Regions from separate parts of the Homo sapiens genome. Here region 2 is linked to region 1. Evidence: promoter capture Hi-C in human tissues and cell types (Jung and others, 2019). All regions are on one chromosome and are shown on one strand. Each heading gives the region's core, a stretch centred on a gene start or on the middle of the fragment in contact. The rest is flanking DNA. Distances are from core to core; before and after follow the strand shown. Region 1 holds the start of C1orf146 (chromosome 1 open reading frame 146). Region 2 overlaps EPHX4 (epoxide hydrolase 4).

The links. The method cuts DNA at HindIII sites, captures the fragments that hold promoters and counts their contacts. A contact is called where the count stands out against the background at its distance.
Region 2: a contact is called between a fragment that was not itself captured here and the fragment with the promoter of C1orf146 in region 1, in 2 of the 25 tissues and cell types used here (dorsolateral prefrontal cortex and stomach).

The regions. Positions count from the first base shown.
Region 1 is chr1:92,216,525-92,219,350 of GRCh38, forward strand. It overlaps C1orf146 (chromosome 1 open reading frame 146), which reads left to right and starts at 1,391. Exons shown (of 6, transcript NM_001012425.2): 1 at 1,391-1,524. The HindIII fragment of the contact is 16,370 bases long and covers 1-2,826 here.
Region 2 is chr1:92,033,108-92,035,933 of GRCh38, forward strand. The region is part of intron 2 of EPHX4 (epoxide hydrolase 4); the gene reads left to right. Among named protein-coding and RNA genes, the nearest start is that of EPHX4, 4.5 kb to the left of the region's middle. The HindIII fragment of the contact is 5,392 bases long and covers 1-2,826 here.

The DNA.
Region 1 (2,826 bases), core at 141-2,640:
CTGATCTTGATCTCCTGACCTTGTGATTCACCTGCCTCAGCCTCCCAAAGGGCTGGGATTACAGGCGTGAGCCACCGCGACTGGCCGGTGGAGCTATATTCTTGGGTAAGCAAGAAGAGATGGGCTCTGTTGTCCATTTGAGGGCTGGCCTTACATAGGATTATACAGTTCACCTACTATAGTTGGAAAGAAAGCAGAATCTGGCATATAGATGTTGGTAGATTGGTAGGTGGACATCTGTGGAACTTCGTTTCTGGATGCTTTTATTTATCTCATTTGAATAGTATTTAATATTAAATACTAAATACTATTAAAATCATAAATCTTTATGAAATATTAGCAGTAACTATTTCACTTCAGCCGAAAATGAAGATGAGGAATAAGTTCTGGAGATTTGAAGAGAGGAGGAATTGTCTTAGTCCATTATGGCCACGATAACAAAATACCTTAGACCAGGTAATTTATAAACAAGAGGCCAGGTGTGGTGGCTTAACAAACTGCCCAAATGAGGCAGCAAGAGTGCACCTAATTTTAATATCAGTTATACAAAATGCCAAACATACAAAATGGTTATCACAGGGAAAAATTAACAGCACATCACAAGTGTGCTCCAAAGGATTTTTCCTGGAGCACCTTTCTTTCTACAGGAATACCTGTTTTACAAAGTAAGGCACATAGTTTTGTATCCTAACCATTAGGCTCAAGGCAAGTAGTGGTCTTTGTCTTTTTACATTTTTATGATTGTGACACTTAATAAATTGCTGAGCTTCAATTAGGTCTGAACATAATGGGGTCCTAAAAAGCAAACACACAGGCCCCTGTATGTCCTTTTGACAGCTGCTCATGAAAATCTACCTTTTTCATAATTTGGATAAACTGAAGGCCACTTTGATTTTATGTTGCAAATGACAGAAATCTAAGAATTGAGCCTGAATTTTAGAAAACTGTGAAAATCAATTCCGGACAACTGAGTCTAACACGCAAAAATCTTGTTTTTTTTTTTTTTTTTTTTTTGAGACGGAGTCTTGCCCTGTCACCCAGGCTGGAGTGCAGTGGTGCGATCTCGCTCACTGCAACCTCCGCCTCCTGGGTTCAAGCGATTCTCCTGCCCCAGCCTCTCGAGTAGCTGGGATTACAGGTGCGCGCCTCCATGCCCAGCTAATTTTTGCATTTTTAGTAGAGACGGGGTTTCACCATGTTGGTACGCTGGTCTCAAACTTCTGACCTCGTGATCCGCCCACCTCGGCCTCCCAAAGTGCTGGGATTAGTGGCATGAGCCACCGCGCCAGGCCTACAAATCTTGTATCTTCTTAACCACTTCCGGCTTCCTGCAAACCTCGCTCTAGGGAGCCAGAAGCGCGGAAAAGGTTTGCGGGGTCTGCGGTTGCGCAGAAGCCCAGCGACTGCAGAACCCTGCCCCAGGCACCCTGGGCGCTCTGCCCTACCGGCGGCGCCTCTCACTGCTCACGGAACGTTCTGGAAGTTTGGGAAACCCTGAGCGGTCTCTGAGGACCTGGTGAGCAGGTGGGTTTGCAGCGCTGGGGATGAGGCCTCGGCAGACCTGTCTCTTCGCGTTTTTCTTTCTTCGTTCTTCGCCGGCGTAGTGCTCTCTGACTTGCCGAGCTCAGAGCTTTACCTCAGGGCTTTGGCGGGTGAGGGGAGGAGATCCTGCCCACCCTATTTTCCCCTTGAGAATCGGTGTGGAAAGGGCTCCCTCGGGGTTTTCCCTGTCAGAAGTCCGTCACCCACCTGCGAGTGTAAATTTTATTTGCTTTAGGCTTTGTTGGTCACTCCGAAAAGTAAAGAATGGAAGAGACCGTGAAGATCCTTGTAGGCCGGCGCCTCACTGGACCCGTGAGGAGACTGAGCAGGGAAAGTGACTTGCTGGAGATGATGGGGCAGTGTTAAACTTAAATTTGCAAACACTCCAGAGCTTGGAAAAAACAAAACAGTAGCAACAAAAGCCCAGAATACCAGGGCCTTGGAACTGGCAAAGGTTTAAGAGGCCACTGGGCCCACGCTTTTTGTTTTTATTTTTAATTTAACTTTTATGTTAGGTTCAGGAGTCCGTGTGCAGGTGTGTTACATAGGTTAAACTCGTGTCACGGGAGTTTGTTGTCCAGATTCTGTCGTCCCCCAGGTGCCCATTAGTGACTGTCCCTCCTCCACCTTCTGGTCCCCCGGTCCCGTCCCCCGCGCCTGCCCCTCCCCTCTGTCCCTGCACGCTCAGCGTTCACCTCCCGTTTAGAAGCTTTTTGTTTTCAGGTGAGGATGCAGCCTAACCAGAGGTGACGTGATTTGCCCAAAGCCACACAGTCCTTGCTTGGCTGCTGGTCGAGGAGCTTTTCCCCAGAAATGCTGAGAAGGCACTGCCCCAGCCCCAGGTTTCTGATTCATTCCTCACCTTTAACAGGGACTTGGGACACGACTGACCCCACTCCTTTCTCACTTATTGTGCACGTGATTACTTTACTTCTCTTAGCTTTAGTTAAATTGTTTTTAAAACCTATGTATAAGGGTGTAAAGATTTAAATGAACATTTATGGATTACTAACTGATAGGCACAAACATACATATCCACATACATACCAGTAACTACTCCAAAAAGTTCTTGTAACCTTTGCATATATGTATTCATAGCTATGTGGGTGTATTAGTAAGTATGTGTAGGGGGGGTTATAGAAGTTGAAGCCCTTCCCCCAGCCAACTCACCATTTACTCATTCACAAATCTTTGAGTGTCTACTGAGTGCCAGGTGCTGAGTAAGGTAAAACAGAATCAGAATGTGTCCCTGCTCTCATGGAGCTAGTTAACTTCTCATTCATT
Region 2 (2,826 bases), core at 114-2,613, 180 kb before region 1:
TCTTGCTATATTGCCTAGGCTGGTCTTGAAAGCCTGAGATCAAGCAATCCTCCCACCTTGGCCTCCTAAAGTGCTGGGATTACAGATGTAAGCCACCACGCCAAGCCTCTTGTAATGACTTTTAACAGACCCTACTTTTTGATCATGTGCCCAGAGTTAATATTCCTAAATGTTCCTGAATCACAGGTCTTTTTCCTCCTAAAAAGACCTACCTGCTACCAATTTAAATTTATATATTTTTTTGAGGATTAAAAGAAGTATCTTTTAATGTTTCAAATTTCTGAAATAGTAACAAAACAGTTTGTATAGAGTATCTACTATAGACAAAATACAACACTGGGTAGGGAAAGGAGATTTTAAACAAACCAAAGACGTGGAGTGATTGTTATTAGGAAGATTTTGGTGAGGCTGGGGTGAGGAGAAGGCAGAGTAGAGCACTTATGGAAACTGAAAATGAACTATTTCCTATGCACAGAGCAATAGGCTTATATGAATGCAGGATAATTTAAGTACCTAAATATTTCTCATTAGGAAGAAAATCTGGAGCCCCAAATATGTAATTATTAGTTACTATCTTCGTTCATTTTTGTTGCTAACAAAATACCTGAGACTGGGTAATTTATAAAGAATAGAAATTTATTTCTCACCGTTCTGGAGACTGGGAAATCCAAGATCAAGGCACCAGTAGGTTCAGAGTCTGGTGACATCCATGTCTGTGTGTGTCCAACATGGTGCCTTGTTGATGTGTCTTCTGGAGGCAAATAAACTTCATCATATGAATTTTGGGAGAACATATTCAGACCATAGCAGTTACCTAAGGGGAAGTGTTCTGTTCTCTATTGACCCCACTGGGCCAAATAAGTACAGATGAAAGCAACACATGTTTAAACTTTTTTTTTTTTTTTTTTTTTAATGAACATCTTTAAAAGAGGTGGTACATATCAGGAGGCCGAGGCGGGTGGATCACGAGGTCGGGAGATTGAAACCATCCTGGCTAACACGGTGAAACCCTGTCTCTACTAAAAATACAAAAAAAAAAAAAATTAGCTGTGCTTGGTGGCAGGCGCCTGTACTCCCAGCTACTCGGGAGGCTGAGGCAGGAGAATGGTGTGAACCCAGGAGGCGGAGCTTGCAGTGAGCCGAGCTCGTGCCACTGCACTCCAGCCTGGGCAACAGAGCGAGATTCCGTCTCAAAAAAAAAAAAAAAAAAAAAGGGTGGTACATATCATGGCAGTAAAAGAAAACCAGTTTTTATAGCACAGGGCTATAAGAAATAGTTCATAAACTAAATAGGTCAAGAAATTGATGTTTTTAAAAGCCCAGTTCCCTTAGTTGACTCAAAGGTGGAATATCTGGTATATTTTGAAAGGTCTAGGACAATATCCTGTCCCCAAATTCTCCCTTACTATCTTATAATTCCTAGAATTCCAGCATTACAGATTTCTTACCTCCTTTAGAGTCTTAAAGATTTTATGTCACTCAAAATCCTGATTTAAAATGCATCTAGTGCTGAAAGGATTACTACCTTAAGACGCTTCTTTTTTTTTTTTTTTTTAAACAGTCTTGCTCTGTTGCCCAGGCTAGAGTGCAGTGGTGCAATCTCAGCTCATTGCAACCTCCATCTCCTGGGTTCAAGTGATTCTCCAGCCTCAGCCTCCCAAGTAGCTGGGATTACAAGTGCGCACCACACCCAGCTAATTTTTGAAGTTTTAGTAGAGACAAAGTTTTACCATGTTAAACAGGCCAGGCTGGTCTCAAACTCCTGACCTCAAGTGATCTGCCCCCTTCAGCCTCTCAAAATGTTGGGATTACAGGTGTGAGCCACTGCACCCGACCCACTTTAGTTAATACTTTGTGAGTGAAAGGGACTTTATGAATAAATGTATTGAGGATGTTAGTGTACTAGGAGGTATTAGGCATTGAAGAAAAGAGTGGAGGATGGCAAAGACACCTATACCTAATAATTTTTCCAGAGTGAGAAGTCTTCCTTAGAAGATTTTCCCTGCATGAAGATTTTTTTCCCCTTCTGGATTTATGTGCATAAATAAACATAAGTCATTTTCATGTTATGCTTTGATCTGTTCTTTCATTTGGAGACAGCTTAATGAGGTGGTAGATTAGCTGCCCAGTGCAATTCGAGCATATGCATATGGTCTCACCTTATGGAGTGCGTGGCATAATTAGTTCACAATAAAATGTTACTCTGAAACACTGATCAAATCTGCCTAACATAGCATGGGCAGTACATTCTGGCTCAACCACTAGTTTGCTGAAGAACCCTAAACAGTCATCTACAATGATGTTGCAAAGTTGGGTGAGGATGAAGAGAGTCAAAATGTCGAAAATCTTTCACGTGGCCCCAGTGAATATTCAGTAAATACTCATTTTCTTCCTTCATTCCCATTCATTCATTGTGGAGATCCATGTGTCAAATAATAATTTCCTAACTCTGGTGATGATAGTTAACATTTTCTAAGCATTTACTATGAGCCAGGCACTCTCTTTTTTATTTTTATTTTAAGTTCTGGAATACATGTGCAGGACATGCAGGTTTGTTACATGGTAAACGTGTGCCATGGTGGTTTTCTGCAACTATCAACCCGTCATGTAGGTATTAAGTCCAGCATTCATTAGCTATTTATCCTGATGCTCTCCCTCTCCCCACCCCCAACAGGCTCCAGTGTGTGTTGTTCCCCTCCCAAGCCAGGTACTTTTGTAAGTGACTTATATATACCATCTCATTTAAGCCCCATAGCTACCCTTCTGAAGTTGGCAGTGCCAGAAAGTCAGGTGTCCCTTGTTTTTGAAAGTCAGGGCTGACCTCTG